Linked DNA regions of Homo sapiens: regions 2 and 3 are each linked to region 1. The links are contacts of gene promoters, found by promoter capture Hi-C in human tissues and cell types (Jung and others, 2019). All regions are on one chromosome and are shown on one strand. The core of a region is centred on a gene start or on the middle of the fragment in contact, and the rest is flanking DNA. Distances in the headings are between cores, read along the strand shown. Region 1 holds the start of APOBEC3H (apolipoprotein B mRNA editing enzyme catalytic subunit 3H). Region 2 overlaps TNRC6B (trinucleotide repeat containing adaptor 6B). Region 3 has its middle 40 kb from the start of TNRC6B.

The links. The method cuts DNA at HindIII sites, captures the fragments that hold promoters and counts their contacts. A contact is called where the count stands out against the background at its distance.
Region 2: a fragment that was not itself captured here is called in contact with the fragment with the promoter of APOBEC3H in region 1 in 1 of the 25 tissues and cell types used here (hippocampus).
Region 3: a contact is called between a fragment that was not itself captured here and the fragment with the promoter of APOBEC3H in region 1, in 1 of the 25 tissues and cell types used here (dorsolateral prefrontal cortex).

Annotation. Positions count from the first base shown.
Region 1 is chr22:39,095,888-39,098,719 of GRCh38, reverse strand. APOBEC3H (apolipoprotein B mRNA editing enzyme catalytic subunit 3H) reads right to left here and starts at 1,476. Exons shown (of 5, transcript NM_181773.5): 1 at 1,377-1,476. RefSeq lists enhancers at 58-944, 1,275-1,614, 945-1,832, 1,155-2,354. The HindIII fragment of the contact is 18,686 bases long and covers 1-2,832 here.
Region 2 is chr22:40,298,580-40,301,411 of GRCh38, reverse strand. TNRC6B (trinucleotide repeat containing adaptor 6B) reads right to left here. Exons shown (of 23, transcript NM_001162501.2): 13 at 826-957; 14 at 407-502; 15 at 79-262. Among named protein-coding and RNA genes, the nearest start is that of ADSL, 47 kb to the left of the region's middle. The HindIII fragment of the contact is 7,080 bases long and covers 1-2,832 here.
Region 3 is chr22:40,136,771-40,139,602 of GRCh38, reverse strand. It overlaps a transcript of TNRC6B not described here. Among named protein-coding and RNA genes, the nearest start is that of TNRC6B, 40 kb to the left of the region's middle. The HindIII fragment of the contact is 3,810 bases long and covers 1-2,832 here.

The DNA of each region.
Region 1 (2,832 bases), core at 227-2,726:
AGGAGATGCTGGCAGGGGCAGCAGGGCCGGGGTGACCTCTCCCAGCTCAGGGCCCTAGCTCTGGTCTTTCCAGGGATGGATCTCCCATCCTCCCAGTATTTCTGCCACCCATCCTCTAACCCATTAAAAATAAGAAAAGTGAATAAAATTCTCCCCTTCAAAATAAGAGCTCTTAATATTTCAGTTCAATTAATTCCTGGCATTTTACCTATTCATGTTATTTTATTTTATTTTTTTAGTTTTAGTAGATAAGGGGGTCTCCCTGTGTTGCCCAGGCTGGTTTGGAACTCCTGGCCTTTAGTGATGATCCTCCCCTCTCAGCTTCCCAAAGTGTTGGGATTACAGGCATGAGCCATTTTGCCTGGCCAGGCAGGAAAATGGCGTGAACCCAGGAGGTGGAGCTTGTAGTGAGCCGAGATTGCGCTCCAGCCTGGGCAACAGACTGAGACACCCCTTCTCAAAAAAACAAAACGAAACAAAAAATCAGGGTAGCACTTCCATCCCCAGGCCCAGGCCACTCTTCTAAGTGCTGAGAGGATCTGAGCTCACGTGAGGCTGCCCTAGGCCTGCAGGGGCCATTCTCATCTTACAGAGGAGGGGCCAGAGGTGCAGAGAGGTGGGGTAACCTGCCCAGGCCATGGAGCTGGGCCACTTTCCTGGCCAGCCCTGCCAGCCTCTGCATCACGGGCCCTGCAGGAGGGAGCCTTTGGGAACCAGGCTCTCTTCTTCCTAAATTTTAAAATAAAAGCATTTCTCCTGATCATTGAGTTTTTCCGTATATTCCGTGTTACTGGTGTCATTATAAACGGTGAATGTGAATACTGATCATGGAGGAGGAGTGTGTGTTCAGGGTCATCTGCATCCTCCTCTGCCCACAGTGGAGACATCCTTGGAAGAGATGATTTGCCTTGTGCTTCAGAGATCATTGCCTCCCCACACCCTCTCCTAAGACTTTGTATTGAAACAAAGTAATCTTACACAAAGTTCATCAAAGCACTGTGAACAAAATTCCAGATTGCTCCCATCATCCTTTAGTTCAGTTCTCCCAGTTCCAGAGCCCAGGAATGGCAGGAAGCACACAGAGAGAGCACCCTCCCAAGGTGGGGAGCACTAGCCCAGCCATGACTCTTAGGGGAGAGTCTCAGCAGGGGTCTTGGGCTGGTGCAGGCCGGGGAGGCGGCCCGTTCAGAAGCAGCAGTGGGGTGACCACACAGCAGGGCAAAGAGCCTGGGTGGGAGTGGGGATGGCAGGGGAGCCAGAGGAGAAGGAGCCCAGGGCTGGGGCTGGGGCAGCGGGAGGCCAGGGCTGAGGCACAGAAGGGCTGCCAGGCAGGAAGTGGCAGCAGAGGGCCCAGTGGACAGAGTGGGCGGCAGTACCTGATCTGTGCTTCTGGCCACAGCTTCCTTAGCAGACTTGCCCCTGCTTGTCTGAGGCACTAAGTTTCACTTTTGGCAGCTCTCCCAAAAGTCACAAAAGGTCAGCTCTCCCAAAAGTCACAAAAAGTCACTGCTTGATGAGGGTGGCTCCACCCTCTTCCTTTTGTGGGACTGGAGTGGGAGGGCCCTGGGGTGCTTCAGATCCCTCAGGCTCCTTTCTTTCTCTATTTCCTCGGGCTTGGCAGGGGAAGTCTGATGGAGGTGGCTCACCTCCCATCCTCCCACCCCCAATTCCCTCTCCAGGTACAGCCAGACTCAACTCCCTCCCCAGGTATAGTTTACAAAAGAACAAAGGCCAGATGCGGTGGCTCACACCTGTAATCCGAACACTTTGGGAGGCTGAGGTGGGCAAATTACAAGGTAAGGAGATGAAGACCATCCTGGCCAACATGGTGAAACCCCGTCTCTGCTAAAATACAAAAAATTAGCCAGGTTTGGTGGCCTGCGCCTGTAGTTCCAGCTGCTTGGGAGGCTGAGGCAGGGAAATTGCTTGAACCTTGGAGGCAGAGGTTGCAGTGAGCCGACGTCGCACCACTGCACTCCACCCTGGCAACAGAACGAGACCCTGTCTCAAAAAATAAATAAATAAATAAAAATAAAAAAGAAAGAAAAAAGAAAGGAATTGATGGCTGGTCACGGTGCCTGTTATCCCAGCACTTTGGGAGGCTGAGGCAGGTGGATTGCCTGAAGTCAGGAGTTCAAAATCAACCTGGCCAACCGCACTCCAGCCTGGGCAATAAGAACAAAACTCCGTCTCAAAAACTAAACTAAACTAAAATAAATGAAAGGAATAGAAGCCACAGAAAGGAGCAGGGATCCAGACCAGGGCTGACACCATAGACCAGATGCCACTCCCCTGGTGGACAGGGCAGGCTGCAGCCCCCTCCCCACCACCCCACTGACCTTTGGCATTCAGCCTCCTGGCAGGACCCTGAGCCTGATGTGAAATGAGCACTGGGGTCAGGCTCAGGACTGCATCTCCAGCGGATCCAGTGCCCATTATCTAGCCCAGTCCCCAGATAGCACTGGGAGGGGAGGGCAGTGATCCTGACAGTCAGAGGAGGTCCCAAGCACAGAGAGGCTAAGATACTGTCCCCACGTCACACAGCAAATCAACAGCAGAGCTGGAGTGCTGGCCAGGACTTCCTGTGTCCCTTCTCCCCCACAGCTAGCTACTTTGAGGTTCTTCATTGCTCCATGGAAAGGAGCAGGAGAGGAGACACGAGGGAGGGGACTTACTGCTCCTAAAGGGCCTCCCAGGTCAGAGATGAAGGACCTGGACTTCACATTTGCATTCTGGAACCCATGTCCTCGTCTTCATGCATATCAACCAACACCCTTCAGATCATAAACACCAAAGAGCCAGGCCAGGTGCTGTGGCTCACGCCTGTAATCC
Region 2 (2,832 bases), core at 164-2,663, 1.2 Mb before region 1:
GTAATGCAGGTGCAACCCCTACCACAGGCCTAGAGAGGTAGATTTCTAAAAAGGTAATTTTCTCTACCAACAACTTACCAGAACCATATCCAGGTATTGGCCCTTTGGTTTGAAGGTCTGGGAGCCCCACATTCAATGCGTTGGGTACCATGTTGTCCAGATGCGGCTTGGGCCCAACAGGATGAGAGGGCGAGTGCTTCATGCCTGGCTGCCTCTGCTGCTGCTGCTGCTGCTGCTGCAGTGCACTCACCATTCGAGCCAGCTGAGGGCCAAGAGAGACAGACACGTGATAAGCACGGCCCCGAACTTCCCAGGAAAAGACTGTGCCCGGTTCTTTGCCATCAGAGGCTAAGCCGGGATGTACTCCTCCAACACAGCACTGGAGGGACCCTGCCTACCCACGTACCTGCTGCTCTTGCTGTTGGCGTACAGCTTGAGAAATCTTTCTCTGGTTCTGTAACAACTGCTGCTGTTGCTGCTGCTGCAAGAGAAGCTGACATGCCTACAAAACAAGGGGGAAAGACAGAAAACCAAAGTTTCCTGAGATTGATTTACTGAGGACACCTAAAGGGTCTGTGCACTGAAGTACAGGTCACACAATCAAAAGTATCCAGGAGGGAAGTAACACCAAATTCCCGGTCTCTTGGTTACATTTTCCTCCAGTTGAGCTGACAACCCTTAAGCACACTCCATAGTTTGCAAAGAAGTGTGGACTAGCACCCTTTGAACATAGAAAGTGGCAAAGATGTGGGAAGCAAATCAAAGCTAAAGAAAAAAAAAAAGCAAATGACCTTTTTAGCCACAGGAAGAAAATCTTCTACTTACCAACTGAAACTGGGGAATTTGTGGAAGCTGGCTCAGCATGGCAATTTGTTGAGGAGATAACTGGGGCCCCACATTGAAAAGACCTGGACTCAGGCCACTGTTGGGAAACTGCTTGAGCATTGAGGCAGAAACCTAGCCAAAAAAATAAAAAAGAAAGAAAAGAAAAGGAATCTTCAGAATTTATCAAAATAAAACTGTTTTTCTGTGAAAAGAATCTTGATGAATCTAAAGCAAGAGTTGTCAAACTTTTCTGTGAAAAATATATAACAGGAAAAATACACTCAAGGGTTAACAATGATTATCTTGGAGCAGTGAGATTACAACAGTTTTTAAATTTTCTTCTTAGACTTTCCAATTTTCTACAATAAAAAGTATAAATTTTATATTCAGGAAAACATCTTCAAGAAAAAAAAATTGATGACAATATGGCTTTTATCCAACCAAGAAATTATTACTGGAAATGTGCCATAAAACAAAACATGCTACATTGCATAAAGCTAATAAATAATACTTACGTGAAAGTATTTCTGTGCTACAAGTAAGACAAATATATTAACTTGTAAATAGAAGACATGAGTTTCAATGCATGGCTTCTGATAGCAAACACCCACAGAGTGGCAGTGTAAAAAAAGAGCCAGCATCAAAGAGCCTGGAAGGTCACTGACCCGGCAGGGTCCTTCTCCCTGTTCTCAGGAGTGAGCTAGGCGAGGCTGCAGGAAGCTCTGGCGACAGAGGATTCCCTCCTATCTTTGGTTTGCTCCTCTAAGATGATTTAAGTAAGAAGAAGTGAGTTTCCCTGCACCCTCATCTACTGAACCCACTGGACTAGTTGGGGCCATGGAGAACAAGCTTAAGAACGTGTCCGTGAGTGCCAAGTAGTGTAGCACAATGGCCAAGAATTTAGTCCTAGAGGCTGGGCACAGTGGCTCACACCTGTAATCCCAGCAGTTTGGGGGACTAGCTTGTGCCTAGGAGATTGAGAACACCTGGGCAACATAGCGAGCTATCATCTCTTTAAAAAAATAAAAAGGTTAAAAAAAGACTTTAGAGCTGGGTGTGGTGGCTCACGCCTGTAATCCCAGCACTTCAGGAGGCTGAGGTGGGTGGATTACCTGAGGTCAAGAGTTCAAGACCAGCCTGACCAACATGCAGAAACCCCGTCTCTACTAAAAATACAAAATTAGCTGGGTGTGATGGCGCATGCCTGTAATCCCAGCTACTAGGGAGGCTGAGGCAGGAGAATTGCCTCAAGCTGGGAGGCGGAGGTTGTGGTGAGCCAAGATGGTGCCATTGCACTCCAGCATGGGCAACAAGAGTGAAATTCCATCTCAAAAAAAAAAAAAAAAGACTTTAGTTCTAGAGGCAGACTGCCTGGGTTTGTAATCCCAGCTCTGCCTGCCTCCCCAGTTTTGTTTTTTTTTTTTTTTTGTTTTTTTTTTTTTGAGACAGGGTCTCACTCTGTCACCCAGGCTGGAATGCAGTGGCGTGATCATGGCTCACTGCAGCCTTGACCTCCCGGCTGGTCTCAAACTCCTGGGCTCAAGCCATCCTCTCAAAGTGTTGTGATTACAAGTATGAGCCACCGCTCCCAACCCAGCTCTGCCATTTCTTTTTTTTTTTTGAGACGGAGTCTCGCTCTTTCACCCAGGCTGGAGTGCAGTGGCGCTATCTTGGCTCACTGCAAGCTCCACCTCCTGGGTTCACGCCATTCTCCTGCCTCAGCCTCCCGAGTAGCTGGGACTACAGGCGCCCGCCACTGCGCCCGGCTAATTTTTGGTATTTTTAGTAGAGACGGGGTTTCACCGTGTTAGCCAGGATGGTCTCAATCTCCTGACCTCATGATCCGCCCGCCTCGGCCTCCCAAAGTGCTGAGATTACAGGCGTGAGCCACCGCGCCCGGCCCCAGCTCTGCCATTTCTAAGCTGACTCAGAGCAAGTTACTCATTTAGCCTTTCTGACCCTTACTTTCCTGATCTCCAACTGGAATGACAACAATATTAACTTCAG
Region 3 (2,832 bases), core at 131-2,630, 1.0 Mb before region 1:
CCCGGCACTTTGGGAGGCCAAGGCAGGAGGATCACCTGATGTCAGGAGTTCGAGACCAGCCTGGCCAACATGGTGAAACCCCATCTCTACTAAAAATGCAAAAATTAGCTGGGCATGGCAGCATGCGCCTGTAATCCCAGCTACTCAGGAGGGTGAGGCAGGAGAATCACTGGAACCCAGGAGGCAGATGCTGCAGTTAGCCAGGATCGCACCACTGCACTCCATCCAGCCTGGGCCATAGAGCAAGACTCCATCTCAAAAAAAAAAAAAAAAAAAATGCGTACACCCATGCAATAGGGTATTATTCAGCCATTCAAAGGACTGAGGCACTGATAATGTGCTTAACATGGATAGCCTTGAAAACATGATGCTAACTGAAAGAAGTCTCACATCACACAGAAGGAAAACATACTGTATGATTCTATTTATATGGAATGTTCAGAATAGGTGATTCTGTAGAGATGGAAAGATTAGTGGTTGCCTGTGCCTGGGAGGAAAGGGAATAGAGAGTGACTGCTAATGGATACAGTTTCTTTTTGGAGTAATGACAATGTTCTTAAATTAGATGGCAGTGATGGTGGTACAACTCTGTGAATACACTGAAAACCATTGAGCTGTATACTATAAATGGGTAAGTTTTATAGGATGTAAAGTATACCTTAATAAAGCTGCTGAAAAGGAAAAGGAAAGAACATCCAAGTTAATTCTTTTCTTTCCTTAATTTACCTTTATTTTTACTTTTTTTTAGTACTTTGAATTGCTGTTTGGGGTTTTGTTTGTTTTGGTACTTTGAGAGAGTGAATTCTTATCCATGCTCAGGTTGGACACAGTCTGAAATACTTCCTACAGTTCTATACTTGAGCCTTTTCTCATCTCCCAGCCCCATCTATTCCTATATGCTGAGAACTCCTAATACGTATCTTGATGTCCTCTCTCTCTACTGAGCTCTAAAATGCCTACTAATTTAGTTTTACCTGGGCTGCCTGCAGGTGCCTCAGTATTTCAAAATCCACACCCAGTTAAAAGTAACAGTAACAGGCCAGGCGTGGTGGCTCATGCCTGTAATCCCAGCACTTTGGGAGGCTAAGGCAGGCGGATCACCTGAGGTCAGGAATTCGAGACCAGTCTGGCCAACATAGCGAAACCCCGTCTCTACTAAAAATACAAAAACTAGCTGGGCATGGTGGTGTGTGCCTGTAATCCCAGCTACTCAAGAGGCTGAGGCAGGAGAATCTCCTGAGCCTGGGAGGCAGAGGTTGCAGTGAGCTGAGATCATACCACTACACAATAGTCTGAGCAACAGAGCGAGACTCCGTCTCAAAAAAATAACGATAACAGTAACAACAGCTACATCCAATACCTTGCTCTATCTCCTATTTCACATGGCATCATTTAACCCACTCTTTGCAGATTTGTGCTCTCCTCCCATCCTTCCTGTATGCTTCTCCTGTCAGTCCCCTCCTCTGCAGACCACTGTTACTGCCTTATTTCAAAAGCCTTCCTCAGTCTTCCTGAGGGGACTCCTAACTCTCCTAACTGGTTTCCGTGTCTCCATTTTACAGCCTGTTGGTAATCATTTCTCCACACTCCTGCCAGGTCATTCTTTTTTTTTTTTTTTTTGAGATACAGTCTAGCTTTGTTGTCCAGGCTGGAGTGTGGTGGTGTGATCTCGGCTCACTGCAACCTCTGCCTCCCAATTCAAGCGATTTTCCTGCCTCAGCCTCCCAAGTAGCTAGGATTACAGGCGCCTGCCACCATGCCCGGCTAATTTTTGTATTTTTAGTAGAGATGCGGTTTCACCATGTTGGCCAGGCTGGTCTGGAACTCCTGACCTCAAGTAATCCACCCGCCTCGGCCTCCCAAAGTGCTGGGATTATAGGTGTGGGCCACCAGGCCCGGCAGGTCCATCTTTCTAAAATATGCATCAGATCATCAGGTTTCTCCCCTGCTTAACATCCTTCAATAGTTCCCTATTGCCTGCAGGGGTTCTGCTTCTAACTCCATCTCCAGGGTCTCACAGACATCTCTCAATGCTCTAACCATCTCTTCTCCGGAGAAATGTGTGGCTCTGAATACGCACAAAGCACCCTCTCCCTTCTTAGGGATTCTTCTGTACCTATAGAAGTCTATAGTTCTATAAACTGACTTTTCCAGTAAGTTTATCTGACATAAGGAAACAGCTGATTACTCTGCCGTGTAACTTGTCCAGGATGGAGTATTGAACTACTATGGCCTCTGGAGTCAGACAGGCCTGGAGTTCAACCCAAATGATGTTGCTTACCAGCTACGTAAACAAATGGGGAAAGCACTTGCGCTGCATGTTTGCTTTTCCAATCTGCTCTCAGAATACCAAAATCCATGAAATCTTGTTATCACTTTTGCTAAAGCAGATCCAGCCTAAGGTAGAGATATCCTAAGCTCTGGAAAGCAAAAGACTTTATTAAACAATGGGTAAATCTTTTTTCTCTGCATCCCCTACCAAAACACAAACAAAACAAATTACCAAGTTCCTAAAATACTTCTGTGTAACACTTTTCTTGACTAAATGAGCACTTAATATTAAGAACAGATCTTGCAGTTCTTTGTCAATGAAACCAATTAAAACAGATCATTCAAATACTACTGTGTATTTTATGTCTAAGTTACCCTATTTAACTATCTTTAATGTTAAGCAAATCAACAGATGACTTTATTCTCTGTAGACAAAGACTACGTTTACTTGCTGCCTTTGATAATGATAATGTTATATTAATAGCTAAAATGTTAGCTTCCTGATTCAGTAAATATTTATTTGCAGTAATTAGTAGAAACACGTGGGTACTTAAATATATA